Linked DNA regions of Homo sapiens: regions 1, 2, 3, 4 and 6 are each linked to region 5. The links are contacts of gene promoters, found by promoter capture Hi-C in blood cells and fetal thymus (Javierre and others, 2016). All regions are on one chromosome and are shown on one strand. Each heading gives the region's core, a stretch centred on a gene start or on the middle of the fragment in contact. The rest is flanking DNA. Distances are from core to core; before and after follow the strand shown. Region 1 overlaps USP28 (ubiquitin specific peptidase 28). Region 2 holds the start of ZW10 (zw10 kinetochore protein). Region 3 overlaps NCAM1 (neural cell adhesion molecule 1). Region 4 overlaps TTC12-DT (TTC12 divergent transcript). Region 5 holds the start of PTS (6-pyruvoyltetrahydropterin synthase). Region 6 overlaps TTC12-DT (TTC12 divergent transcript).

Evidence for each region. Contacts are between HindIII fragments. The CHiCAGO score rates a contact against its expected background, and 5 or more counts as called.
Region 1: a contact is called between a fragment that was not itself captured here and the fragment with the promoter of PTS in region 5, in 6 of 17 cell types (total CD4 T cells, activated CD4 T cells, non-activated CD4 T cells and 3 more). The highest score is 9.8, in total CD4 T cells.
Region 2: the fragment with the promoter of ZW10 here is called in contact with the fragment with the promoter of PTS in region 5 in 4 of 17 cell types (total CD4 T cells, naive CD8 T cells, fetal thymus and 1 more); the score reaches 8.4 in total CD4 T cells.
Region 3: a fragment that was not itself captured here is called in contact with the fragment with the promoter of PTS in region 5 in 1 of 17 cell types (non-activated CD4 T cells); the score reaches 5.8 in non-activated CD4 T cells.
Region 4: a fragment that was not itself captured here is called in contact with the fragment with the promoter of PTS in region 5 in 4 of 17 cell types (non-activated CD4 T cells, total B cells, naive CD8 T cells and 1 more); the score reaches 13.6 in non-activated CD4 T cells.
Region 6: a contact is called between a fragment that was not itself captured here and the fragment with the promoter of PTS in region 5, in 9 of 17 cell types (total B cells, total CD4 T cells, naive B cells and 6 more). The highest score is 11.7, in total B cells.

What each region holds. Positions count from the first base shown.
Region 1 is chr11:113,795,922-113,800,552 of GRCh38, forward strand. It overlaps USP28 (ubiquitin specific peptidase 28), which reads right to left. Exons shown (of 26, transcript NM_001346252.4): 26 at 1,954-3,494. The coding sequence ends at 3,319. Among named protein-coding and RNA genes, the nearest start is that of CLDN25, 18 kb to the left of the region's middle. The HindIII fragment of the contact is 2,228 bases long and covers 1,746-3,973 here.
Region 2 is chr11:113,771,254-113,776,001 of GRCh38, forward strand. It overlaps ZW10 (zw10 kinetochore protein), which reads right to left and starts at 2,439. Exons shown (of 16, transcript NM_004724.4): 1 at 2,309-2,439. The coding sequence starts at 2,413. RefSeq lists enhancers at 2,170-2,439, 2,570-2,629. The HindIII fragment of the contact is 9,750 bases long and covers 1-3,071 here.
Region 3 is chr11:113,261,726-113,266,288 of GRCh38, forward strand. The region is part of intron 17 of NCAM1 (neural cell adhesion molecule 1); the gene reads left to right. Among named protein-coding and RNA genes, the nearest start is that of NCAM1-AS1, 9.9 kb to the right of the region's middle. The HindIII fragment of the contact is 896 bases long and covers 1,583-2,478 here.
Region 4 is chr11:113,277,277-113,281,871 of GRCh38, forward strand. It overlaps TTC12-DT (TTC12 divergent transcript), which reads right to left. Exons shown (of 5, transcript NR_199709.1): 3 at 3,215-3,356; 4 at 2,214-2,373; 5 at 1,161-1,467. It overlaps NCAM1 (neural cell adhesion molecule 1), which reads left to right. Exons shown (of 20, transcript NM_181351.5): 20 at 1-1,160. Among named protein-coding and RNA genes, the nearest start is that of NCAM1-AS1, 5.7 kb to the left of the region's middle. The HindIII fragment of the contact is 4,658 bases long and covers 675-4,595 here.
Region 5 is chr11:112,223,580-112,227,817 of GRCh38, forward strand. It overlaps PTS (6-pyruvoyltetrahydropterin synthase), which reads left to right and starts at 2,849. Exons shown (of 6, transcript NM_000317.3): 1 at 2,849-2,947. The coding sequence starts at 2,865. RefSeq lists silencers at 2,720-3,129, 3,487-3,781. The HindIII fragment of the contact is 9,611 bases long and covers 1-4,238 here.
Region 6 is chr11:113,294,928-113,299,600 of GRCh38, forward strand. The region is part of intron 1 of TTC12-DT (TTC12 divergent transcript); the gene reads right to left. Among named protein-coding and RNA genes, the nearest start is that of TTC12-DT, 17 kb to the right of the region's middle. The HindIII fragment of the contact is 584 bases long and covers 1,216-1,799 here.

The sequences.
Region 1 (4,631 bases), core at 1,610-4,109, 1.6 Mb after region 5:
ATGAATGTTCTTGGTAGGATTGTGCATTAACAGCCAAACATGGGAAGCTCAAAGGACAATAAATGGTGAATATGGTCATACAATGAAACCCAATAAACTGAGCAAGGAAAATGAATAAACTAACAGCTACATGACTTCTGGCACAATTAATTCCCCCTTCTATCCTACCCTTGCTACATTCCCAGCACTCCACTTGATCTCTCTTATTCATTTAATTGTTTTATTGTATGTTATCTATCTCGTATGTTCTTGAAGTGGATAGGGTAAAAATGAGTTAGTATGCCTGCTAGTTCTTAAAGGAGCTAACAAATCCAAACAGAAGATGATTGCAATTCCAGTTAACCCAGTCTAAATCCAGTCTCAAGAGAATTTATGCTGAGGTGAAGTATCCTGCTCAAACTCTTGAATCATTTTGGGTAAGGGTCACATAGGTTTCTTCTTCCCCATATCCTTATTCTTCTCAACCCTTTAAAAAGGTAAAAACCAGGCCAGGCACAGTGGCTCATGCCTGTAATCCCAGCACTTTGGGAAGCCAAGGCGAGGGGATTGCTTGAGCCCAGGAGTTTGTGACCTGCCTGGGCAACACAGCAAAACCCTGTCTCTACTAAAAATACAAAAATTAGTGGGGCATGATGGTGCACACCTGTAGTCTCAGTTACTTGGGAGGCTGAGGTGGAAGGATCTTTTGAGCCCAGGAGGCAGAGGTTGCAGTGAGCTGAGATCGTGCCACTGCACTCCAGCTTGGGGGACAGAGTGAGACCCTGTCTCAAAAAAAAAAAAAAAAAATGCTTAGCCTGACAGCTGGGTAACAAACAAACAAACCAGTCTGAGACCTTAGTTTGTGGAGGCCTTTGGTTGTACCTAAAGGCAGCCAGCTACTGTTAGGAATAAGAAACTATTAATAGTTCTCAGCACTCCCCCTGGTGGATCCAAATGATACAGACTACTCAGCACCATACACTCCAGATGTCCATCCATTCCTTTCTTTGCCAACTGTAGATTCCCAATAGCTGATCAGGAAATAACTACTGTTAAGGAGACACAAAACAAAATATTTCACACGATTACCAAGGACAGTTGAACATCTATTAAAAGCACAGGCTATGAAGTCAGACACACCAAGGATTAGTGTCCTAGTTCTACCACTTACAAGATCTACGACCTTGGATAAATCATGGTCCCTATCGTCATCCCAGGGTTAAAATAATATAACTGAAGCACTGCACACAAGACTCAATATTGACAGGGATTAAAAAGTGAAAGGCAAATGGTGGCACACAGGATGTTAAACTGTAAAGGGTAATCAGTAAGAAAATTGATCAACTTCCCATGAAACAATCTTTGCGATGAGTTTTAAAACACTAAAGCACCTCTGAATATCTGTAAAGCATGGCCTACCATTAATCAAAATACATTTTGACCCTTGAAAAACACAGGTTTGAACTGCATGAGTCCCATGAGGATTTTTTTCAACCAAATGCAGATTGAAAATAGAGTATTCACAGCATGTGAAAACCCAAGTGTATGGAGGGTCAACTTTTCCTATATGTGGGTTCTGCAAAGCCAACTACAGAATTTGAGTATGCATGGATTTTGGTATATGCAGGGGTCCCAGCAATTGCCGGTGTCTGCTGAGGAATGACTACATAAGAAACTCCATTCTAAGAAAATTGCTGTTTTTGCATTCAAAAATTTGACAAAGTAGATAAGCTTACATGCAATGCAAATAGCCAATGAGATTAAAAAGCTTCAGTTACCACTAGGTGCTGCTCAATAATTGACTGTTGCCTTTTATTTCAAACACTGGCGCGTCAGTCCCCATCCAGTTTATCAACCCTCTAATCTGCTTTTTGGTTTTAAAGAAGAAAAATTGGAACAAGACAAATACCAAGTATGTCCATTTCCCAAATGGAAAATATATATTTAAATAAAGACCATACTGCACACCAAAGGTAAAACAAATACTTTTATTGCACATTTATAAAATCTGCATAGTTGTATCAATTTTTTTCCCTTTCATGATTCCATTAATCTTTAAAATTTGGTTAAAACACAATATCCAATCAGAAGCCTTTTAAAAATGATCAATGGGAAGTATTTTTCTCTACATATACATATATATATAGTTTTGCATATGTATGCTGGTTTTTTTTTTTTTTTTTTTTTTTTTGTACAAACCCACATCCCTTACTTTTAAGGGCAAAAAAGAAGGCCGGGTACGATGACTTGTCTGCAATCCCAGACTTTGGGAGGCTGAGGGAGGCAGATAGATCACTTGAGGCCAGGAGTTAGAGATCAGCCTGGCCAATATGGTGAAACCCCATCTCTATTAAAAATACAAAAATTAGCCAGGTGTGGTGGTGCATGCCCGTAATTCCAGCTATTCGGGAGGCTGAGGCACGAGAATCACTTGAGCCCAGGAGACAGAGTTTGCAGTGAGCTGAGATTGCACCACTGAACGCCAGCCTGGGCGACACAGTGAAACTGTCACAGAAAAAAAAAAAGAGCAAAAAAGAGGAGGTGGACCTAAATGGTCTTTGGGCCAGCAGTAGCCCTATTGACTGTTTTTGACAATTTTTAGGTATTAGAAAATTTTACCTAAATGCCTAATAACTATTAATGGATGATCTTCAGTCAAGTTACACAATGCTCTTCTGTCTAAAGTCCTTAATACTTTACTTTCTTTCACTGAGGACTGAGTATGAGGTTTTCTGGTTTAAAGATAGAAAAGAAAGGAGAGAGACAGGTCTCTTTTGACTTTTCAACATCTCACTGCCATGTGAGCTTATATTCTACCCACATGTAAAAGGGTGCAGTTCATCAGCAACCCATTTTGTTATCTCCTGGCAAGAGCCAGGCAAGGTTTATATTTCTAATCTCTTGTAGTTAAGAATTTTTAAATGTCATCTGTATTTGATAAAATAACTAGTAGCTGTTCATCTGGTTCAGGTTCTCATGAATCATTCTTCTATTCTGCTGTCAAAAATATTTATGCCTGAAGGATAATTTTAAAAGTGGCAAGAGGCTTAGAAAAGCCTAAGCATTGTTGTAGGTACAAGGCATTTCAGGTCTTCTGGCGTAATTCAACACCTTAATACACTGCTTTCTGCCTTTTCTAGTGAAACAGCTTTTATGATTTTGTACCTAAAAAGTGCAATTTTATTTTCAATCCTTCTTTACACATGCAGCATGGTTGGGGTCTGATCGGAATCTTATGTGCCCACCTAATCCTTTTCCCAAGGTGAGCACTATGACAACGAACTTCTGTGCAAGAGGCAGGCAGCCAGGAACCAGAATGGGCCTTGAACATGTGGGAGCTTATTTCACTGTCACAGTTGAAACTCCCTGAATTGACTCCATGACAGCTGCAAATCGGCTACATAGGTCATAGGGAGAATTGGGTCGAATAGTTGGAGGCTCTTTCAAGACGATGATTTCTGCAGAAGGATCTAGAAGTCTGGGTAGAAACTCCCCTAGGCACAGCTGCAGATTTTCTGTGGAGGGAAAACAGATGGTTACATATACAGCTAAACAGATTTCTGAGTAAAAGTGAACAAGCCTTCTATTAGCCCCTTACCTAACCTCAAAGGTCAAAGCATTATGCTGGCCAGTTACTAATAAATGATTATTCCTTCAGGCCAAACCAGGAGCAAAGGCAAATAAACCAAACTTTAGCTCACTGCTATATAACAACTATATAATTACTTTATTACGAAAGGGTCTTCTAACCAATTGTCTTCTTAAAATACAAGGAAGTAGATATGATACTCTAGCATAGATATGATGGTAATTATTTTCTTTCAAATGTTTACAATATATCAGTGTATACACATGGTTTTAAATCAGGGGTGTACAGTCTTTTGGCTTCCCTGGGCCACACATGAACCTCACTAACAATAGCTGATGAGGTTAAAAAAAAATTCATAATGTTTTAAGAAAGTTTAGAAATTTGTGTTGGGCTTCAGGTTGGACAAGCTTGGTCTAAATAAAAACTGAAGACAGTAAAGGGAAACACATGGCAACTAGCTATTACAGGATTTTTAAATAAATACTATCAACTTAAACACTTGAACAAGTCAATGGAATATCTTTTTTTTTTTTTGAGACGGAGTCTCACTCTGTCGCCCAGGCTGGAGTGCAGTGGCGCCATCTTTGCTCACTGCAAGCTCCGCCTCCCGGGTTCACGCCATTCTCCTGCCTCAGCCTCCCAAGTAGCTGGGACTACAGGTGCCCGCCACCACACCCGGCTAATTTTTTGTATTTTTAGTAGAGACGGGGTTTCACCATGTGAGCCAGGATGGTCTCCATCTCCTGACCTCGTGATCCGCCCACCTCAGCCTCCCAAAGCGCTGGGACTACAGGCGTGAGCCACTGCGCCCGGCCTTTTTTGTTTTGTTTGTTTTTTAAAGATAGGGTCTCACTCCAAGCTGGAGTGCAGTGGTATGATCTTGGGTCACTGTAGCCTCGGCCTCCCAGACTCAAGCAATCCTCTCACCTCAGGCTCCTGAGTAGCTAGAACTACACTATACCCAGCTAAGTTTTCATTTTTTGTAGAGGCAGGGTCTCACTATGTTGCCCAGGCTGGTCTCAAACTCCTGGGCTCAAGTGAGCCACCCACCTTGGCCTCCCAA
Region 2 (4,748 bases), core at 1,189-3,688, 1.5 Mb after region 5:
GCGTGAGCCACCGCACCTGGCTGAGGTTGCGTTTTGAGCATAGGGTACAGAAGCCTTTCTGGATTTGGATGTGGCTGAGGAAAGAAGACAGAAGCCAAGGCCATGCACATAAAATGAGGGGTTTGAGTTAGTACTTACCTGGGCTGGAGTGGGGGCAGGGGGTCCATCTTACAGTAAAATCTTAAAAGAAATTATTTTTAGCCTGTCTCTATTCCTTGGGTGGTTCATTTCAAAGGGTTATTTGCCTCATTCCATATCTTCAGTGAAATCTTACGTGTAATTGTGTGTATGTATTCCACCATGGGAAGAGAGAACACCTGTTTAGTGTTGCACTTTAGACTGGTGTCTTGTTTTGTTAATGCAGCTGTGCCACAAATTCTCCTTTATCTTTTAAAAATGTGATGGCTTTAAATTGATTTTGTTTTTCTTTTTGAGATGGAGTCTCACTCCGTCCCTCGGGCTGGAACGCAGTGGCACAATCTCGGCTCACTGCAACCTCAACCTCCCAGGTTCAAACGATCCTCCTGCCTCAGCCTCCAGAGTAGCTGGGGATTACAGGCGCACACCACCACGCCTGGCTAATTTTGTTAAATTATTATTTTGACAGAGGAATAAATACATGAATTAAAAAAAAGAACAAATTATGCTTGCCCTCAAATTCCTACGTAGTAAAGATACTATATACTTGAGCAACAAGAATACAGGACTGAAATGTAATACAGCAACAAAGTTACAAAGCCTTCCAGGAGCACAAATGAGAAAGAGATCCCCTCTCCCTGAGGGAAGATAAAGATTTTTTTTTATGCAGGAGACATTTGAAATGGAACTTGAAAAATGGGTTTGAAAAATACTACAGGTAAAGATGGAAAAATGGCAACATAAGCAAAATATGGGATTAAAAAAGGGAGGGAGAGCAGAGAAAGTAATTCTCAATTGGCTGAAGATTCAAGTTGGTAAAGGAAACTAGTGAAAGCAAAGAAAGGCATGTTGGGTCCAGAACACGCAGGAGCTAGGGTCGCTTGCCATGCTAGAGTAACTTAAAAACCTGTCCTCTTTCCATCACATTAAACAGTGGTGAAAAATCCGAAAGCCATATTAAAGAAGAGATGTCAGGGATATGACTACTTAAAATTCAGGAAACTACTTTTGTAAAATCAAGAGCTGTTAGGAAGGGTTATACCTGTGCCCTTATGGTGTGTGGCAAACTTGCTCCCTCGAAACCCTACTTGACTCAGATACACAAAATTTTAAATGAAAGCAACTGAAGATGTGGACAAATACTGGCAAGGTAACAATATCAGTACAAAGCAAAACTGTGTGTGGCTACGTGCTTCCAGTTTTTGTATCAATCTCAAGGCAGCAACGTTTACGTAGGTACCAATGACACTCAGCACAGCTTCATGTGCTTGTAGATGAAGTTTTAAAACCACATTAAGAGGCCGGAGACGGTGGCTTACACCTGTAATCCCAGCACTTTGGGAGGCCGAGGCGGGTGGATCACCTGAGGTCAAGAGTTCGAGACCAGTCTGGCCAACATGGTGAAACTCCGTCTGTACTAAAAATACAAAAAAAAAAAAAAAAAAATTAGCCAGGCGTGGTGGCACGCGCCTGTAATCTCAGCTACTCGGGAGGCTGAGGCAGGAGAATCGCTTGAACCCGGGAGGCAGAGGTCGCGGTGAGCCGAGATCACTCCAGCCTGGGCGACAGAGCAAGACTCCATCTCAAAAGATAGATAGATACATAAAAATAAAAACATACTGAGGGTTTGGGTTTGTTTTTTTTTTAATGTCGGGGAGGAGAAAGGTGCAATCCTCCAGGCTATTTTATTCATCAACAAATCAAGGAGTGGGTGGAGGAAATAAACACTCATCGATGGAAGAAGGGGAAGGGGGATCCTGTCTTTTCTATTCCTCTCCTGCGCTCGCTCCCTAGCTTCCTCGGAGCTTCCAGTTGCTCCTCCCGCTCTGCTGGTCTCTTCAGTCTCCCTCTTCCCGCGGCACACCCCTCCCCAACATAACTCCACTCTCCAGTGCTCTCCAGCCACCGCCTGTTCGTCCCCACAGTCCCAGGTCTCCTCGCCTCCTCAGTTCCCAACCCCTGTGTGGGCTCCCCTCCAAGATCCCTCCTCAATCCACACATTCTGGGCCCCTCCACTCCTCATTCAGCCCCCACAACTAGATCTCCCCAACAGGCCCCACTCTGCTGGTCCCCACTCTGTCTGCCCTTAGCCCCTGACTCCTCTCTCCAGTCCCTTCACACAAGGACCCGGAGTCCCCTTCCAGTCAGCAGACAGCTGCCCCGCTCTCACCTTGATCTCCTCCACCCGCCGGGTCAGGCGGCTGATCCGGGTCCCCAGATCCTCCTTTTCCAGCCTCCCGGAGTGTGCCAAAACTTCTGTCACGAACGAGGCCATGGCCAAGACGGGAACCAACGCTGACTGGGTCACTCTCGTAGCCAGCGCCGCAGCTCCCGTCCCGCCGGCCGTCTTGACGCGAGGCCTGCCGGGAAACGGAGTCTCGCGGGCCTCAGACCGCCGCCCGGAAGGCGAGGGGCGCACTACAACTCCCAGCAGGCACCGCGCCAATCCCGAGATGGGATTTCCACGGTGTCCCGTAGTTGGCAAACTGTAAGCAGACGCGTTTTCTTCCTTAGTTGTTTTCAAAGTTCGTTGCTTCCCGCCCGTTTTTCACTGGAGGAAATTAAACGTTTTTAATAACCAGGTCTAACTGAACCTTTCTAAACTTCAAAAGGCTTACTTGTAAAATTATCTAACTGAAAGAGCCAACGAGCCCATCTCGATCTTTTTTCCTCAACTTTTATTGGGCCGCTGTGGCACCAGAATCTACGAATGGCGCCCTCTAGAGTTGTGTAAAGAAGTGGCGTCACCTCATTATAAATAAAAGGTTGCTTATAATTGCATCTATGTACATATATTACATCTACGTGATACATTACACATTTACATTACCTACATTACATATTTATATTACTTAGATATACATAATATTAGTCCTGTGTGAACAAGATACTTAGTACTTTCTGTCATATTATAAATATATAAATGTGTCAAAAGCTTTTAAAAATGGTTTCATTATTTTAATGCATTGCATACAGAAAGATGTTCACAATATTCTATGTATACTATGATTCCTTTTTAAAAACTTAAGTGTATAACCATTGGTCAGAAAACAAAAAGTATGTAAGTATGTATGTAAAGGACAGACATCAAATTATCCTATGGGTGGTGGATTTATGGTATTTATTCTCTTCTCTGCCCTTGCTTTCTCTATTTTTCTGCAGTAAACATACACAGTCCTCCCTTGGTATGGGGGGATTGGTTCCAGAAACCTCCCCTGCCCCAGTAGCAAAATCCGTGGATGCTCAAGTCTCTTACATAAAATGATGTAATGTTTACAAGTAACCAGCACACATCCTCCCCATACACTTTAAATCATCTCTTGATTACTTATAAGACCTAATACAAATCAATCTAAATGCTATAGAGTCGTTATATTGTATTTTGATTTGCATTATTTTTTGTTGTTGTATTGTTATTTTTTATTAGTTTTTTCCAGAATATTTTTGATCTGTGGTTGGTTGGATCCGTGGATACCAAGAGCCAGATGTACTGTTTTGATTAAAAGGTTTTTGGTTTTTTAAAAAGATATATTGTGAGGGTTGACCCCAAGTAGGCACTGACTCTAAGATCCCTGACAATTGTTAAGTGTCTTTGAGACAATCTGCTTATCCCAGTGAAGCAAGGGCCAATTCACATGCCATGAGCAAAGGAAACAAAACTGGGATTGAGAGAGGAAGCACTGAAAACAGCCAAAACATCCTGAGAAACTCCCTTCCTTGGAAAACCAAATCAATTTCTTTTTGGTAGACCTGTCAACTTTGAATTCTAACTGCAACTAATAATAAATGCCCAATGACAAAGAATGACTGATAGATGAAAATTCTGAAACTTTGTACTGCATATTTATTAAGCAATTATCACATAGCAGACATTGTGCTAGGTCTGGGGACCCACAACATGTGAATATATAATCACAGAAAAATATGATAATTACTAATTTGTAGGTAGATGAGGGATGGATCTAGATTTAGTGGAACTTAAATCTTATACAGTTGCAGGGAGGGGAAGGACTCTTTAAAGAAAAGAATATAAAATAATGAATACAAAATTAGATGTCAGCCTTAGAAGGGGCTTGTGCAAGTAATGAGCTGTGAAGTTTAATCTGCCCCTGAGGAAGATGCAAATGGCAGAGGAAATATTGGAGGAAGAGCACCCAGTCTCTGACTGAATTAGAAAGGTTTCACAATGTTAACATTTACAGGAGGCCATCACTTTGGACTGAGTTCCTGCACTAAGCCCAACAGACCAAACCAAAATGGAGTCACTCATGCTAAAGCTCTACTTCGCCAAACCAAAACTAAGCTGTCTGTCTGACCTTCTGAGAAATCAGGAGAATGAGAGATAATCACCAAATTCCCAAACCTGCCAGTTTCAGTCTTCATGATAACGAAGTTCCCTCTGTTTTAATTCTTACAAAAAAGTACCTGAACTAAACTGATGCCAATCAATCAGTTATTTTTCTATTGTTCTGTTTCTCAGTTCCCACCTTACCAGGAAATTAAATTTGAAACAGCCAATCTGCTTTTTGTTCTTTGTGTCTCCTTTCTTCAGCCTTTTTCTTTCTATAAAACCAACCTCATCTGTTCAGCTCATCGGGACACTGATTCTA
Region 3 (4,563 bases), core at 781-3,280, 1.0 Mb after region 5:
GACACTTAGGAGGTGAGATCAGGTGAGGCTTGAGTAAGCCCTTTGCAGCAAGACAGATTCCTTATGGCAATTGCTCCCTGGGGTGAGACTCACTGGGTAGGCTGTTTGGACCTGCTGTGTTCACATGCTGGGTACTCCTAGCAGCACTGGCTTCTGTGGTTTTTGTGTCAGAGACCGAAATTCTGGGTAGACCTTGTCCTCCAGAGTTGTGCCTGCTGGAGATATCAGAATCCTTCTTGTGAATCGCCCAGGTGCCCACTTAAGCCAGAGAGGGCTGGGGGATTGCTCACCTCACCGGTGACGGCTCTGTGGCTCTCCTGCACAGATCTGAGAAGGTGGTGGCTGTGTTCTCGGTTAGACTTTCCTGGCCATTGAATTGGGATCCGAGAATAAAACCTCTCTGAATTACAAGTTGGACATTTGTGGTTGAATTCTGTGGTCAGCAAGCAGGGTAGAAGGTGAAGCGGGGTACAGAATGAGACTTCCTTTAACAGCACTGTGGTGTGGGACTTGTGCCATAGGAAGAAAAGCCTGCTTCATCTCTGACAAGGCCATCCCCAATCCCTAAGCACAGTGTGCTGACTCATAGTGCAGCGATCCAATGCATCTCCACCACTATGGGTAAAACACGCTAGACACTAGAAGACAATACACTTGCTGGCTGTATCTAAGAGGCTTCACCTTAGTGAAAGGTAACACTCTCCTAATCAAACTCTTGTATTTTAGCGTGGAGGCTTCTGTTCTCTCACTTTAATTTCATTTGCTCGCTGATCCCTAGCCCCCAAATTAACCCTGCTGTGCTGCTTCTGGCATTGCTGAGCTTCTGAACTGGCCTTATGGTATTGATACTGCACTGAACCCTCTCTAACCTTTGTCAATTTAATTTACTAAGTTGAATTAACCTTTGATTCTGTGTTTTCTATAGTTGACCTAATTTTTTTTCTTTTTATCTATTTTTTTCTCTGTTTCTGTCTCTACCTTCCCTTTCCTTCTGTCCCCCTCCCCTTCCTGTGTCTGTCGTCACACTTGTCACCTTGGACGTCACTGGGACATCCCCACTGCCACATTTGTTTTTAAACAACCACATTATCTCTGGGGACCCATTGCTTGACACCTGCAGCAACCTTGGGAGGCAATTCTGCATCCTACACCTTTGTCTCATTGCTTTTCTCTGCAGTGACTCTTCTTTTGCTCTGTTAGGAACTTGAACACAAAAATTAAATTTGCTTAAAAGCCCAGTTCCTATGAAAAAGATCAGTGCCCCCTTTGGAAGAACCTGGCAGGACCACCATGGCCACAGCTGCTGAGCAACCATTCTGTGTGGAAGAGAAGGTTTTGTGATTGGAAAAAGCTTTACCTCCAGACATGTCACCACTCACAGATACTTTTGTGCCACTTCATAAGGAGTTTGCCCCCTTTTTAATGGCAGTAAAAAGAATTTGAGAGCTCTTTCTTTAAATGCTATTTTTAAAAACCATCATGCTAGATTTACAGAGAAGTTTCTGCATATCTGCTACTTGTTGCATTTTGGGTTCAAACCTAAATATGATGTAGCAGAGGAAGAATTCTAAGTACCTTCTAAAGCTTGTGTCAGATTGTTAAAATCACCACACATTCCCCTCATTCTAACTCTGTGCTCCTTGTCCTCCCTTCAATAATAATTGGCTTTGCTTGCAATTAAGCATTTAAGTGCCCATGTTAAAAGAGCCAGACCGCACTGATTCACATGAGCGTTTTGCTGACATGATGGGCAACTGAAGTCACCCCTGTTGCCCATGCACTGGAAAAAAAGTTGAATTTGTTGGATATTTTCTGGGGCTGATGAACGTTCTGGGATGTGCTTTCAGTCCTCGTATTACGGCCAGCACCTTACACTGTCTCTGTGAACGGGGCCAAGCCATGATGTGCCAACAAGTGTCAGCTTTGAAAGGTGTTTGTCTCCCAATCGGGGTGACTCCCCTGCTGCCTGGCAGCATGTCGCAGATCAGCACAGAGTGGGGCCGTGGTTCAGCAGTGACCCACAGAATGGCTTTGAGCATCAGTCTACAGGACAGGTTGGAAGCATCCACTGTGAACCAGGCATTAGTCCCCTACCTGGCCTGTGTGTGCTCAGTAGAGAAGGAGAGGGACAGGCCACTCCCAGACTGCCCAGCCCAGGAGGGTTAATAAATTGGGGCCGAGCCAACCTGTCAGTGCTTCCTGAATGCCCCAGCCTCTGTATTGGTGCGTTGGTTCAGTGACATTTTCTAAACTCTCCTGAAAATCCAGCTGCTCCTCCCTGCTGCTTGGGAGTTCACCCAGGAGAGGAAATGGGTGTGTTTTGTTAAGGTCCCTTGTGGAGACTCAGGGCTGAATCCTGCTTGGTAATATCAGTGTGTGTGCTTGGGGATGGACCTTCTACTGAATAAAAACTCCCTCCCTCCCCCCATTGTGGTCACATATCATTCTACATATCTCATCTCTGAGCATCTCCATGGAAGCTTGATTTTTGTTCTTTTTGGTTTCTTTATGTATTTTTTTCTGTTGTTATTATTTTTTAATGTTCAAAGACTAGCCTTTCCCTTTGGGATTCCAAATGATCCCATGCTGTGGTCTGAGGGGCAAAGCCACCTATGTTGGCGCTCGCCATTAATCCCCAGCGCTCAGTTTAGAGGCTCACGTGCAGACATCAGAGGCTCCATGCTGCACAGTAGCTCAGGCAGGGTAGTGCCTCTCAACCCAGCCACAAAACTCTCCCCGCTGGAGTCCCAGATGGCGCTTCACACCAGGGCAGTGGAGGCAGGCATGGTTTTTGGGCACAGGGCAGAGCATAAGGATCCCAGGTCAGTGTGGGAGAGCTACTGGCTCTTAGGATCACCTTGGGCAGAAGTCACACGGCTTCATCCTAGGAGGGCCCAGCTTGGGAGTCTGCCTCCCCCTGATCCCAGGACCACCCACAGGAGAGGGGCAGTGTCCATCTTTCTGAAGGGACCCTTTGGAGATCTCGTCCTAAGTGTGGAGAGGACTGACGTGGCCCTGTCATCTCAACACATCCCAGGGTCAGGCAGGCCTCAGCTGAAACAATGTCAGGGTCCTCAAGGGTCCCATTTAGACAGACCCACGGCTTGTAACAGTGCGCTCCTCAGGAGGCAGCACTAGCGCATACCCACTCCCCACGGACACTGAGTTCCTGGTGACAGCTGCAGCCCCAGCCCCGCCAGGAGTCCTGGAGACAGCAGCCCTCAGAGACCCTGCAGGAGTGAGTGCACCCCACCTTGCTCAGCCACACCCCACTCCCCTGTGCCCTGTAGTTGTGCTGCCCATGCTCCACACACCATGGGGCCCCTTTGCTCATTTTTGGACTATTTATACAGCAGGTTTGGATCATGTTTTTCTACTAATAAGAATGCTAACATTGTTGTGTAGATAATCAGTGAGGGCTTTATGAAGTTTACACCTTTGCATTATTAAAGGAAATAACAGTTCATGTGAACTCACCAGCGTGGCTTGATTTTATTCAATAGTTGTGTCTGACAAAGCAGCAAAGACCCTTTCCCTCCGCCTCTCATGTACCTGGATAGACTATTACCTAGAGAAATAGTAGCCTGGTGAATGAAATACTTTTTCTTCCTAACGGGGAGCAATCTCTTTTTCCCAGGCATCCTAAGAGCTGTTAAGAGGCATTGCTGCCTTGGAGTCCCCAGCAGGCAGTGGGAGGGGAAAATGCCTTTGCAGAACTGGGGAGGTGGTCACTATGGGGATGGGGCCACACTCTGAGCCAACAGATGCACAACTCTGTGGCAAGGTCACCTGATGACACAGCAGCCTTTATACTATCCCTAACAGAGGCTGCACAGAGTGAGCTTGTGGAGAGGGAATCTGAGAGAAGATTCTCTTTGCAAACTGTATTCTATTCATAATCACACTTAACTCAGACGCATCCTGCAAGCCCCTGAGACCAGCCATCTGTTTAGCTGATTCGAAGGAGCAAGCAGACATGTAAAGGGCTTATGAGTGAACCAGAACCCCAGCTCAACAGTTCCAAGAGTCTGACCATCTTCTGGGAGTCTTGGGGGTGAAAAGGGCATTTCTGCTGCACCAGGGTCTCATGGCACAAGGACTCAGGCCCATCTGGATATTTATAAAATGTGAGACCCATGTTCCTATATTAAGGCATACAAAAATAGGCATCTGTGGGTCTCATTCTTGGAGCAAGCCAGTTCCCTCTTTAGTGCCAACCCCTCCCAAGCCAGGAATCACAGAAGATGGACAGCTCCACCTTCATAATCTCCCTGTCCTGGGCAGCTCTGACCTCGAGGTTATGGGGAAACTCTTCCCCAGAAGCCTTCTTTGCATCCAAGGTGCACAGGTGAGTTAGTCAAGGGAGGGCTGAGGGAAGACCATAGCAAAGACAGACCCATGGAGGTTTATATTTTTCCTTTTATGAAATATTACACAAGAGGCAGGAGATGGCCTTTGTTCTTCTAGTTATCTTGGACTAAACAATTCTGTGATAGCCACTGAGAGGGAATGGGTGTTGGCTTTCGCCTTCAATACCCTGCTGCCCATTTCACAGCCTGTCCC
Region 4 (4,595 bases), core at 1,754-4,253, 1.1 Mb after region 5:
TTATAATTTCAAACTGTGAAGAATAATGGTCTTGTCATTTGCTCAATGTGGGGTTATGTTGCATTTTCTCAGCTCCTGGGGATGGAAATGGAGGATCCCAGAACACACAGCCCTGGCCCCTTTGATTCTAGGGCCTGCACAGATCTCTGGTTCAAATGCACAGGCCCTCAGAATAGAGGAACATGAAGAGAGATCTTAGAGCACACAGTAGAATGTGAGAGCCTGGGTGTCTGAGACCGGGAGGGCCCAGCAGTGAGGGGCAGGCTCTTCTGGTCACCAGGCTGTTCAGTGGACTCAGTTCTTCATCTTGTAATGTCGATGGCTTTGCCACACCAGGCCAAGCCCATGCCATACCTTGTCAAGACTGTCAAAGTGGTTGTGGTTAGGTCAAACTGGTTTTGGTTCTGATGGTTAGGAAGAAACAGGTCAGCCCTCAGATCACCTGGCCCGGGACAGCTGACCCCCTAGAACCCTGGCTCTGCCATTAGCTAGGACCTAAGACTCTGCCCACATTTTGGTCTGTTCTCTCCCATTACACATAGGTTTGTCTCAGCATGCAAGAGTTTTTCCTTTAAAAAAAAAAAAAAAAAAAAAAAAAAAGCAATGCTTTCTCTAAAATCAAAGAGGGAGTCATTTTATTCCAAGATGTTTTATCTTTTATGTTAAGAGATCAAAGCTTATAATTTTCTTTTTTAATTTTTGAAGGAGGGATCAACTCCAGTTTCCAATGTCTATGTGTCTATGTGTGTATGTGCCATACATATGTATTCACATGAAGACCGGCATGGCCAAGTTCTGCTGGAGGAGCACTCAAGTGTGACGAGCAGGGCCACTGGACCCTGCAGGGCTGTGGTGTATATAGTGCAGCTTTGGAGGTGGAACTCTATTTTCACACTTTTCTATGGAGCCTTCCGAGTCCCAGGTTTTCACTTGAGGCTGTCTGTCTGGATGGCGGTTTTCAGACCTCCATTAACATCCCTACCCAGCATTCTGTACTTCGGGGGCCTTCTCTCTTGTTATAAAACTTTTTACCAAGTGAAACATCGATACCACCTTTGTTTCCATTCTCACTGGTGTAAATACTGAGTACTAACTGAGAATTTTGACTTTGCATTCTGTCGGAATACTTGTGTTCAATAAAAATTGAAAGAAAAAAGCTATTATGATCATACTGGGGTTTATTTCAATGCGGTGAGAGTCTGTTATGTGCATCAAATGTGGACATGCGTGTGGTAGTTCCTTTAGGACCTTGTGTGCGAGGAAGGTTAGCGAAGTCTCAGTGTCTTGAGTTCATGTGTTGCCTGAATGATGCTTTCTGTATTTTTTCTCACAGGCTGATAGATGAGAGTCCTAATTTAGAAGGGGCAGACGTCAGATTCAGAAAGGTTTCCTTCGAACTCTGGTTCTGCCGCTCCCCGGTTGACCTTGAAAGAGTTGCTTAATCTCCCCAAGATTCAGTTTCCTTTTCTGACATACAGGAAATACCAAGAAAAGAGAGTTAGTTAGGGTGCTGGTTGATGAATGAAACAATGTACATGAAGGCCTAGTGTCTTCTTTCTTGGCACACAGTGGGAACTCAATCAGCGGGAGTTGGCGCTGTTGGCATCCTGGGTGTGCGATACCATCAGACCTAATCGTAGTAATAGTCAACACCTGAGCTTCAAGATTTCAGCAATAAGGTAATGACATGGCGCTTATTCTAAAATAAGTAATGCCTCCTTCTTACTGCTTTGGCCTATCTCTCAGCATTTAGAGCCGTCATTCAGCCCCTGGAGTTTATTATGTCTCTAAGCTAGACAGAGTGAATAAAACTTTGCCTCAGCTAAGCATTCTCTTGTATATGCTGCTCTCTGGCTGTGTCTGAAAGAAGCAGCTGCTAGAGTTGGAGATGTCCATTAGGCTGTGGAATTGGGAGTTCCTGGAAGAGACCTGCTGTAGAATCAAGGCTAAGGTAAAGCAAGGGAGAATCCCAGGGCACAAAATGTAAGGAGGTGCCCACTCTCGGGGCTGACCCTGCACTTACATGAATCTGAGAGTGATACGCCCTTCAAGTTTGCATCCTTCAATTTTACCTCGCTTGCCTGTAATAATAACACAGAGCCACATGCATCTATGTGATTTTATTTGCCCCAGATTTCAGCTGCATATGACAGGCTAAGACTAAAACACATTGTTTACAAGATTTGGAGAAAACATAAAATGATGACACTCACTCTCCGTTGGTCCATGAGGGCTTGCTTCCAGAGCCTTCCCCCTTCGGGCTAGTTTCCTCTCAGATTCATTCAGTATTCATAGAGCATCTCCAAGGTTCTTGGGATACTGGGATACGGCAGTGAGCAAGGCAACTCTTTCTCATGTAGGTTACATTCAAGCCTGGGAGTGGGGCAGACAATAGACATGTAAACATCCAGTGTGCTGTGGCGGTTCTCCCTTCCTTCCTTCCAGACACATTGTGGGATTCCCCTCATTTAAAGGTAGCGTGGCCAGATGACTTGCTTCAGTAAATGGAATATGAACAGAAGTAGCATGTGTCACCTCCAGGCAGAGCCTTTGTCATGCCCCTTTCCCCCACACCCCCTGCAGCAATCAGCAATGCTTCAGGTGGTGGAAGTGCCATCACCTGGGCTCAGAGTAAGGGATGTGAACAGGTGCTCCATGATGGACATGGAGTGTGTGAGAGGGATGAGCCAATAGTTGTTAGTAAATGTTTAATGGCCAACTCTCCAAAGGAGAAGGGCAACATGTGTGTGTGCACACATGTATGTGTTTCACTTATAAAGGATGCCATTGACAAATAATAAAATACACAGTATTCTACATTGAAATTGCATCTATCCAACTGATACCCACAGAATGCTTTGGTTCATTTTTTGCTGAAGTATTGTATCCATAATCAGTTTATGGTTCCCATTTACAAAGGACTGTAATTCCAACCTGCATGTTGGCTGATATGTTCATTTATGTTAACAAATAAGATAAAACAATAAAGACATATGTTAGAACTTCACTCATCCATCTATGGTGTGAGTGACTTCTTTGTTGAATTGGGGATAAGTTTTTGAATACTAGAGAAATACTGCCTCAATTTTTTGTGCCATTCGTTCACAGTGTAACAGCTGCAGACATGGCACACTTGTAAGTTTAATCTGCATCATAAAATATTTCCCCATTACTTTCATAAATCTAGACAAGCACTAAAAAAAATAAATCAAACCTTGATTTGTAGCATTTACTGACTTCAGCAGTGTGTAAATACTCTCAGTATGGCTGATTTCAATATGGCATCACCAGACGAGGAGTTAGGTAGAGATGCATAGTAGCATGTCATTATATAATACTGTATTTCCACCAGGCAGCTACAAGAGAAATAACATCAAGTGCATAGGTAATAGTAGTATGTAGTAATAATAAAATTTTTAACATATTAATAACAGTAGTAAAATAAGTAGTAATATAATTAAGAAGGGATGCATTTTGAGTATTTATTGCCTTTGGTTTTAATATAATTTAGTTAATTATAACTTTATGTAATTTAACTTTTTATAAATTATATATGTTTGCATAACACCTGGCTCACAAATTTCCTGAAAAGTTAGCAATTGGCTCTCTGGAGCCAGTACAAGCTGGTTCTAGCATATCACTGGAAAACCCTTTATATTACAAACCATTTAAATTTGGGATTTGTAACCTTACCATTATGTAGCCTATCATGGCTAACTCAGGGAATGGTAAGTGCAGAGCGGAACAATGCATCTAGGTAAAGGGGTTATGGAGTATTATTTTATACAGGGCAGTCAGAGTAGTACTCTCTGAAAAGGTGACATTTGAGCAGTGACCTGAAAGAAGTAAGGAACTGAACTGTGCAAATATCTGAAGGAAGATATTTCAGGCAGAGAGAACAACATGTGCAAAGGTCCTGAGGTAGGGACTTGGCTAGCATCTTTGAAGAAGAGCAAGAGGCCAGTGTGGCTGGAACAGAAAGCAAATGATGGGGTGGGGCAGAGAGTAAAGAGATAGGAAATGACTCAGAAGTATCTATGAGCTAGATTGCACAGGATCTGTAGACTGTTGTTAGAATTTTGCCTTTTCTTCAAGTGGGATGGAAAGCCAAGGGATGTTTTTGCCAGAAGCCTGACATGACTTGAGTATTAAAATGAGCACTCTGGCTGCTGGGTGGATAACAGATCACAGGAGGGCAAGAGCAAATGTAAGGATACCAGTGAGGAGGCGATGATCCAGAGGGGACAGGATGATGTGCTTGCAGCAAGCTGCGGCTGGTGGAAGGCTGAGCAGTGGCCAGCTCTGGACATGTACTAAAGGTAAAGCCAGCAAGATTGGATAATAGATTGGATGTGTGGTTTGAGAGAGGAATCACTGATGACTTTCAGATTTTGAATCTACACATTTGAAAGGATGGAGTTGCCATTTACTTTGGAAAAGGAGTGCAGGAGAAGCAGATTATTTGGACGATGGAACATTAGTCTCAGGATACTTGAAGTCTGGGATGCCTGTGAACACCTGAGCAGAGATTTTGCGTAGGCTAAAGTTTGAGAGGTCCAGACTGGAGATTCACGTAGGAGCTGTCCACATAGTGC
Region 5 (4,238 bases), core at 1,599-4,098:
TATTTATCACTGAGGCAGTCCATACCTGGGAAATAATGTTTCTGTTCTGAGTGATCTCGCAATAGTAATTCACTTATCTGTGGCTGTATTTTCTTATCTGTAAAGTGAAAGTATTGAACTAAACAGTCTCTATCTCGAAAATCTCTAAATGTTATTTGAAGTTTTTTCTTTACAGTACAATGGGGTAGATGAGACAAACATCTGAAAATGTATGGAGAGTGTTTGCTAAATAACCTGTTAGTAGTTTAATGCAGAACAAACAGAATATATAGCTGTAAATAGGAGATATTTGAGGGAAATCACCATTTGAGCTTATTTCTATCGCCCCCATGATTTTATCTTTCTTTTTACAGGAAACTTTTCCAAGCCTGTTATTAATCAGTGACTTGTCCTGCTTTTCATCATATACAGTGATGATTTTTCTCATATAGAGTGGAGCTGTCCTCTCCAGTACCTGGAACAATGCCAGCCACATAGTAGATGCCCAATAAATATTTAGTGAAAGAGTGAATGGAAGCAAGAGGTGACATGATTCTGGGAACTGTGTGTAGTTTGGTTACTCTTGTGAGTAGATGTGAGGAAACAAGATCCTTTCACTCTCAATGTGTCTACACTGGCAGAAGAATTGCTAATATGTGTTTAGGGGTGTCTGTATTCACACTATGCCAACCCAGAGTAATAAATGGGTCCATACATGCTTGTGGATAAGAATGGCTTTAGAATTTCCCTTAGTAAGGATCATTACACAACAGTCCAAAGGACTGTTGTCACGTGGTCCTATTTGTGCTCTCAAATTCTTGCTCTTTAAAAATTTTTTTTTAAAGAAACGGTATTAATCCTAAGCAAAAAGAACAAAGCTGGAGGCATCACGCTACCTGACTTCGAACTATACTACAAGCCTACAGTAACAAAAACAGCATGGTATGGGTACCAAAACAGATATATACACCAATGGAACACAACAGAGGCCTCAGAAATAACACCACACATCTACAACCATCTGATCTTAGACAAACCTGATAAAAACAAGAAATGGGGAAAGGATTCCCTATTAAATAAATGGTGCTGGGAAAACTGGCTAGCCATATGTAGAAAGCTGAAACTGGATCCCTTCCTTACACCTTACACAAAAATTAACTCAAGATGGATTAAAGACTTAAATATCAGACCGAAAACCATAAAAACCCTAGAAGAAAGCCTAGGCAATGCCATTCAGGACATAGGCATGGGCAAGGACTTCATGACTACAACACCAAAAGCAATGGCAACAAAAGCCAAAATAGACAAAAGGGATCTAATTAAACTAAAGAGCTTCTGTACGGCAAAAGAATCTACCATCAGAGTGAACAGGCAACCTACAGAATGGGAGAAAATTTTTGCAATCTACCCATCTGACAAAGGGCTAATATCCAGAATCTACAAAGAACTTAAACAAATTTATAAGAAAAAAAATCAAACAACCCCATCAAAAAGTGGGCAAAGCATATGAACAGACACTTCTCAAAAGAAGACATTTCTGCAGCCAACAGACACATGAAAAAATGCTCATCATCACTGGCCATCAGAGAAATGCCAATCAAAACCACAATGAGATACCATTTCACACCAGTTAGAATGGCGATCATTAAAAAGTTGGGAAACAACAGATGTTGGAGAGGATGTGGAGAAATAGGAATGCTTTTACACTGTTGGTGGGAGTGTAAATGAGTTCAACCATTGTGGAAGACAGTGTGACGATTCCTCAAGGATCTAGAACTAGAAATATCATTTGACCCAGCCATCCCATTACTGGGTATATACCCAAAGGATTATAAATCATGCTACTTTAAAGACACATGCACCTGTATGTTTATTGTGGCACTATTCACAATTGCAAAGACTTGGAACCAACCCAAATGTCCATTAATGATAGACTGGATTAAGAAAATGTGGCACATGTACACCATGGAATATTATGCAGCCATAAAAACGATGAATTCATGTCCTTTGCAGGGACATGGATGAAGCTGGAAACCATCATTCTCAGCAAACTATCACAAGGACAGAAAACCAAACACTGCATGTTCTCACCCATAGGTGGGAATCAAACAATGAGAACACATGGACACAGGGTGGGGAACATCACACACCGGTGCCTGTCAGGGAGTAGGGGGCTGGGGGAGGGATAGCATTAGGAGAAATACCTAATGTAAATGACGAGTTGATGGGTGCAGCAAACCAACATAACACATGAATACCTATGTAACAAACCTGCACGTTGTGCACATGTACCCTAGAACTTAAAGTATAATAATAATTAAAAAGAAAAAAGAAAAAGAGAAACGAGGGTCTTGCTCTATTGCCCAGGTTGGACTCCTGGGCTGAAGTGATCCCTCTCCTTCTCAATAGCTGGGGCTACAGGAGTGCGTCACCACGCCCGCCTGGCTCAATTCCTGCTCCTTTTGGTCTATAAAGCGGACTGTGGCCCTGGGGTTCATCCGATTGAGTCACCAGTCACTGGAGCTTTACAGGAGAGAGTGGGAGAGGAGGCTCAGAGAGGTCACTCAGGACCCAAAGTGTGCCCAGACGGGCCCTAACTACGTGGCGTGACCTCAGGCGGGGCAAACAGATCAAGGACACAGGGTCCCCACCCACCCTGACCACTCCAGGGTATGCTTAGGTATCCCAAATCTTGCTCTCCGAAGAGATTCAGATAGCGAGAGACACCCTTAACTGTCTCCCGAGGCCGGGATTGGCCAGAGCGGAAGCGGAGACGCACTTCCTAGGGGCGCGTCTGGCACGCACTGCGCAGCCGCGGTGGGAGGAGGCACCGGCCGCGCGGCGGGAGGAGGTGCCGGCCGAGCACCGCAGACAGCGCCGGGAAGATGAGCACGGAAGGTGGTGGCCGTCGCTGCCAGGCACAAGTGTCCCGCCGCATCTCCTTCAGCGCGAGCCACCGATTGTACAGGTAGGGTGTGCACACAGGTACAGCGGCGGGCGGTGGGCGCCGGGCCCCGGAACGTCACCGGGGCGGGGCCGGCGGGCGTGCTGACGTCGGGCCCGGGAGGGGCGCGGGGGCTGCTGGGGCGACGCGCGCTGGTCGGCTTCGTGGGGCTTCGGACGGCCTCCAGCATCCTGATGGGGGCTGGAGTGTCCCCAGCCCTGGAGGGGTGGGGGAGCTTGATGGTTAACGGAGCCGACTGCGGAGGGCGATGGCCCACGTCTGGGTGCGGGGCCCACACCCGGTTCTGCGACTCGAAGAAACGTCTCTGCCCCTAGGAGTCCCTTGGTGTAGACCACAGGGTTGCTGTGAAACTCAGCAGTGTTAAACTCGCCTATGTTACACAGTACCTGGCGCGGCGTAGACACTCAGTAAATGTTAGCTAATCTTGTATGCCAGGAGCATTGGCCACCATATCTAATGTAATTACAAGGCAAATTTTAGCCCCTTTTTTACCAAAGACTGGATGAACCCAGTCCCTGGTGGTCTAGTGGCTAGGAGAAAAAAAAAAAAAAATGAGCCCAGACGTTCAGTTTCCGAAGCAGCATAGTTGGGATTTGAATCCCGATCATACATACTGCTTGCATGCACTGACGAGTTGATTTTGAGGAATTTTACCACGCACTAACCAGCTCCACCCTCTGGCCCTCCGTATCGTCGTCTGTGAAATGAGGATGACCATCGCTATCTAACAGGATTCATCCCTCCATTCGCTAAACCAGGTTTTGTTTCGTGCTTGTCAGGGCTTGTGCTAGGTAACGGATGCATCAGGGATCTTGTATGGGGTTTCCAATCTGGCCTATTTTGTGGAGGGTACACTGAGAAAATTTTGTGCAAAAGACTTTAGCACTCTAAATACAAGAAGTGGCTGAGCAGGAGAAAGTGGGGGTGTGTTATTCCATTTTGCATTGCCACAAAGGAATACTGAGACTGGTATTTTATAAAGAAAAGAGGTTTATTTGGTTCTGCAGGCTGTACAAGAAGCATGGCACCAGCATCTGCTTCTGTTGAGGCCTCAGGGACCTTCCACTCATGGTGGAAGGCGAAGGGCGAGCAAGCAGGCAACTCACAGGGCAAGTGAGGGAGCAAGAGAGAGGAGAGGAGGTGCCAGGCTTTTTTTAACAACCAGCTCGCCCATTGACTAATAGAGCGAGAACTCACTCATTGCTTCAGGGAGGGCACCAAGCCATTCATAAGGGATCCACTTCCATGAGCCAAACATCTCCCACTAGGCCCCATCTCCAACACTGGGGATCAC
Region 6 (4,673 bases), core at 258-2,757, 1.1 Mb after region 5:
CTCCTTAATATTCTCCAGACTGCAGTACTTTCCTTGTCTGTCATGACCTTGACACTTTTGAAGAGTACTGGTCAGGTATTTCACAGAATGTCCCTCCATTTGGGTTTGTAATGATTTCCCTCACGATTAGAATAGGGTTATAGATTCTGGGGGAAGAATGTCAGAGGTGAGGTCCTTTTCTCATTGCATGACTTCAGGGATTATGACATCAACGTAAAAGGTTACTACTTTCCCCTTCCATACTCTGTTCTTTAGAAGTGAATCACTAAATCCAATGAACACTCAAGGGGAAAGGAACTGAGCTCCACCCCTTAGAAATGGGAGTACCTACAATTATTACCTGGAATTCTTCTGTTGGGGATATTTATTTTTGCTATAATCCAGGTAGTCAAGTGAAGCCTATGGACCTAGTCTCAGAATATTTTAAATTTTAATGTATTGATTTTTTGAAATGAAATACATGGGATTATAAAGGAAAACAGTTGCATTGATATACGATTATTAAACTATTTTTTAAAAAAATTTGTGGCATAGGAATTAAGAAGAAATTACTAAGGCAGATAGTGAAGGTACAGGAGTTCTCAGTAAGATTTTCCTTTTTAATGAAAAGCAGCCCCCAAATCATTTTCTAACAAAGAGCAGCCTGTAAAATCCAGATGCAGACATAGACAAACAAGCTAGAGGCTTGCACCAGTGAATGCCAGCAGGAAAAAGCTACCTGAGACTAGACATGTTCAAAATGGCGGCTCCATCTTCCCTTCTCTTTAACAGCCAAGTGTACAGTAAGGGCTTTCTGGTCAAGTGAAAAGCCCATTTGCATAATAAGATTAGAGTGGGGTGGCCAGCCTTCCCCACATACTATGTAAACGTCACACCTGATCGAACCAATCTGTGGGCTCTACATAAATCAGACACCACTTCCTCAAGTCTGCCTATAAAATCCAGAAAACTCCACCGCCAGCTCGTCCTTCCTTTTGGAAGCCCCTCTCTCTCACTAGAGAGAGAGAGAGCTGTTCTCCTTTCTCTTCCTTTTGCCTATGAAACCTCTGCTCCTAAACTCCTTGTGTGTGCCTGTGTCCTAACTTTTCTTGGCATGAGATGACGAACCCCGAGTATTTACCCCAGACAATGACACCGCATCAGTAATACATGTGCTTATTTATCAGTTCTTCAAAACACAAGGTCTGGTAGCATGTGTAAGATGCTTCAGTTGGAAGCTTCGACTGTGATTTCAAAGTGTTGCTCAGCATAAGTGACATCACAGCTGATGCTAATACCACAGTGGGTTGTTGCCTATATTAACAGTGAAACTAGAAAGTGAAGCAAAAATATTCACAGATCTTTTGAAAGAAGCGGCATTGCCACTGCAAATTCTGTGAGACAGGCAAAAAACGGTGAGTTCCCAAAGTGTGAGAGGGGGAAAACTGGCCTCCGAACACACATCCTCACTGGGGAACCTGAAAATCCAGATTACAGAAGGATTTAACCTTACCTAGAGCTGAAATGGACTTAGTGCGAAATATAAAAGTAGAAGCAGCAACAGGAAGAGGCTTGCAGGCACTCTTCCTCTCCAGCTCAATCCCAGGGAGGCCATCCCTGACTATATCTCATAGGAGCCCTTGGGGAAGGCAGCCAGCAGAATTTGGGAGGGGTCACAGGGTGAAAGAAGTTTCCAACTGAACTTTGTAATAATTTCAACTGTGCACAAACTCTCTTGAGCAGAATCCAGGGGTGAATGACAGTGTGGGCAGATGGGGAGGGGTGTGGCTTCAAAGTCTTGCTGGTTTTCTCAGCAGGGAAGCTTATAGCCTGGGGCAAGATCTGGGTTCTGCCTGCAGGCTGCCTGAAGATAAACTCAGTGCTACTAGTGGAGTACAGCAGGAGAGAGACCGGCCTCACCAGGCAACTGCCTGGGAGCTGGGTGAGCCCTATCCCTACTGGCTTTCCCCCACTTCCCTAGTGACAGAGGCAGCCATAATCCCTTCTGGAACATAACCCCATTGACCTAAGAACCACTCCACCACCATTTCTCACAGTAGCCTGGGCAAGCCCTGCACAAGGAGAGTCTGAGCTCAGATAGGCCTAACCCTGCCCCCACCTGTTGGTATTTCTCTACCACCCCGGTAGCCAATCACAAAAGACATAAACTCTTGGAAGCTTTATGGCCCTGCCCATCACCTGAGAAACCCAAATACTTACCCTGGCTAAGGTAGGGCAAGCTTATATCCCCCTTCTACTATCTCAGCTGGTGCTCTCTTAAAAGCACCACCTCCTGGCTGGAGGTCAACCAACTCAGGACATCACAGCAACTCATGACAGAATAACCCAGCTCCAAGGAAAGAGAAAACAACAGCTAATTCCACTGCCTGCAACATGCTGACTAACCAGTGGTCCTGAGTTTGTCCCTGTGGCAACTTCACTGCTAGCGTCAGCAGCATTTGAGAAAGCCAACACACTAAACACATCTACAACCACGGACTCTCACAGAGTCTATTTCACTCCCCTACCACCTCCACCAGAGCAGGTCCTGGTATCCCCAGCTGGGAGACCTGAAGATGGATCACATTGCAGGGCTCTTTGCAGACATTCCCCAGCACCAGCCCAGAGCCTGGTAGCCCTGCTGGGTGGCTGGACCAAGAAGAGTAATAACAATTGCTGCAGTCCATCTCCCAGGAAGCCCCACCCCTAGCGAAAGGGGGAGCACGCCACATCAAGGCATCACCCCATGGGACAAAACAATCTGAACAACAGCCCTTGAGTTCCAGATTTTTCCACTGAAATAGTCTATCCGAATGAGAAGGAATCAGAAAAGTCATTCTGGAAATATGACAAAACAAGGTTCTATAACACCCCAAAAAGACCACAATAGCTTTCCAGCAATGGATCCAAATCAAGAAGAATTCTCTGAATTGCCAGAAAAAGAATTCAGAAGGTTGATTGTTAAGCTACTCCAGGAGATGCCAGAGAAAGGTGAAAAACAACTTAAAGAAATTTTTTTTGTAATGCAGGATATGGATGAGAAATTCTCCAGAGAAATAGATATCATAAAGAAAACACAATCACAACTTCTGGAAATAAAAGACACACTTAGAGAAATACAAAAGGCACTGGAAAGTGTCAACAATAGACTAGAACAAGTAGAATAAAGAACTTCAGAGCTTGAAGACAAGGCTTTTGAATTAACTCAATCAGACAAAGACAAAGAAAAAATATTTAGTCAGGGCATGGTGGCTCATGCCTGTAATCCCAGCACTTTGGGAGGCCAAGACGGGTGGATCATCTGAGGTCAGGAGTTCAAGACCAGCCTGGACAACATGGTGAAACCCCATCTACACTAAAAATACAAAAATTACCTGGGCATGATGGTGCAAGCCTGTAATCCCAGCTATTTAGGAGGCTGAGGCAGGAGAATTGCTTGAACTCCGGAGGTGGAGATTGCAGTGAGCTAAGATCACACCACTGACCTCCAGCCTGGGTGACAGAGCAAGACTCTGTCTCAAAAAAAAAAAAAAAAATTAAAAAATGAACAAAGCCTCCAAGAAATTTGGGATTATGTTAAATGGCCAAACCTAAGAATAATTGGTGTTCCTAAGGAAGAAGAGAAATCTAAAAGTTTGGAAAACTTATTTGAGGGAATAATCGAGGAAAACTTCCCCGGTCTTGCTAGAGATCTAGACATCCAAACATAAGAAGCTCAAAGAACACCTGGGAAATTCATTGCAAAAAGATAATCACCTAAGCACTTAGTCACCAGGTTATCTAAAGTCAAGACTAAGGAAAGAATCTCAAGAGCTGTGAGTCAAAAACATTAGGTAACCTATAAAGGATAACCTATCAGATTAACAGCAGACTTCTCAGCAGAAACCCTACAAGCCAGAAGAGATTCGGGTCCTATCTTTAGCCACCTGAAACAAAATAATTGCCAGCCAAGAATTTTGTTTCCAGCAAAACTAAGTTTCATAAATGAAGGAGAGATAAAGTCTTTTTCAGAGAAACAATGCTAAGAGAATTAGCCACTACCAGGTGAGAGCTACAAGAAATGCTAAAAGGAGTTCTAAATCTTGAAACAAAACTTCAAATTATGCCAAAATAGGACTTCCTTTAAGCATAAATCTCACAGGATCTAAAAAACAATAATGCAACAGGGAAAAAAACGGTATTCAGGGAACAACTAACATGATGAATAAAACAGTACCTCACATCTCAATACTAACATTGAATGTGAGTGGTTTAAATGCTCCACTTAAAAGCTAAGGAATGGCAGAATGCATAAAAACCTACCAACCACATATCTGCTGTCTTCAAAAGACTCACCTAATGCTGGACTCCCATAAACTTTAGGTAAAGGGGTGGAAAAGATATTACATGCAAATGGAAACCAAACGCAAGCAGGAGTAGCTATTCTTGTATCATACCAAAGAGACTTCAAAGCAACAACAGTTAAAAAAAAAACAACAAAGAGGGATATTAAATAATGATTAAAGGATGAGTCCAACAAACAAAATATCACAGTCCTAAATATGCATGCACCTAACACTGGAGCTCCCAAATTTATAAGACAATTATTACTAGACCTAAGAAATGAGATAGATGACAACACAATACTAGAAAGGGACTTCAATACTCCACTGACAGCACTAGACAAGTCATTGAGACAGAAACTCAACAAAGAA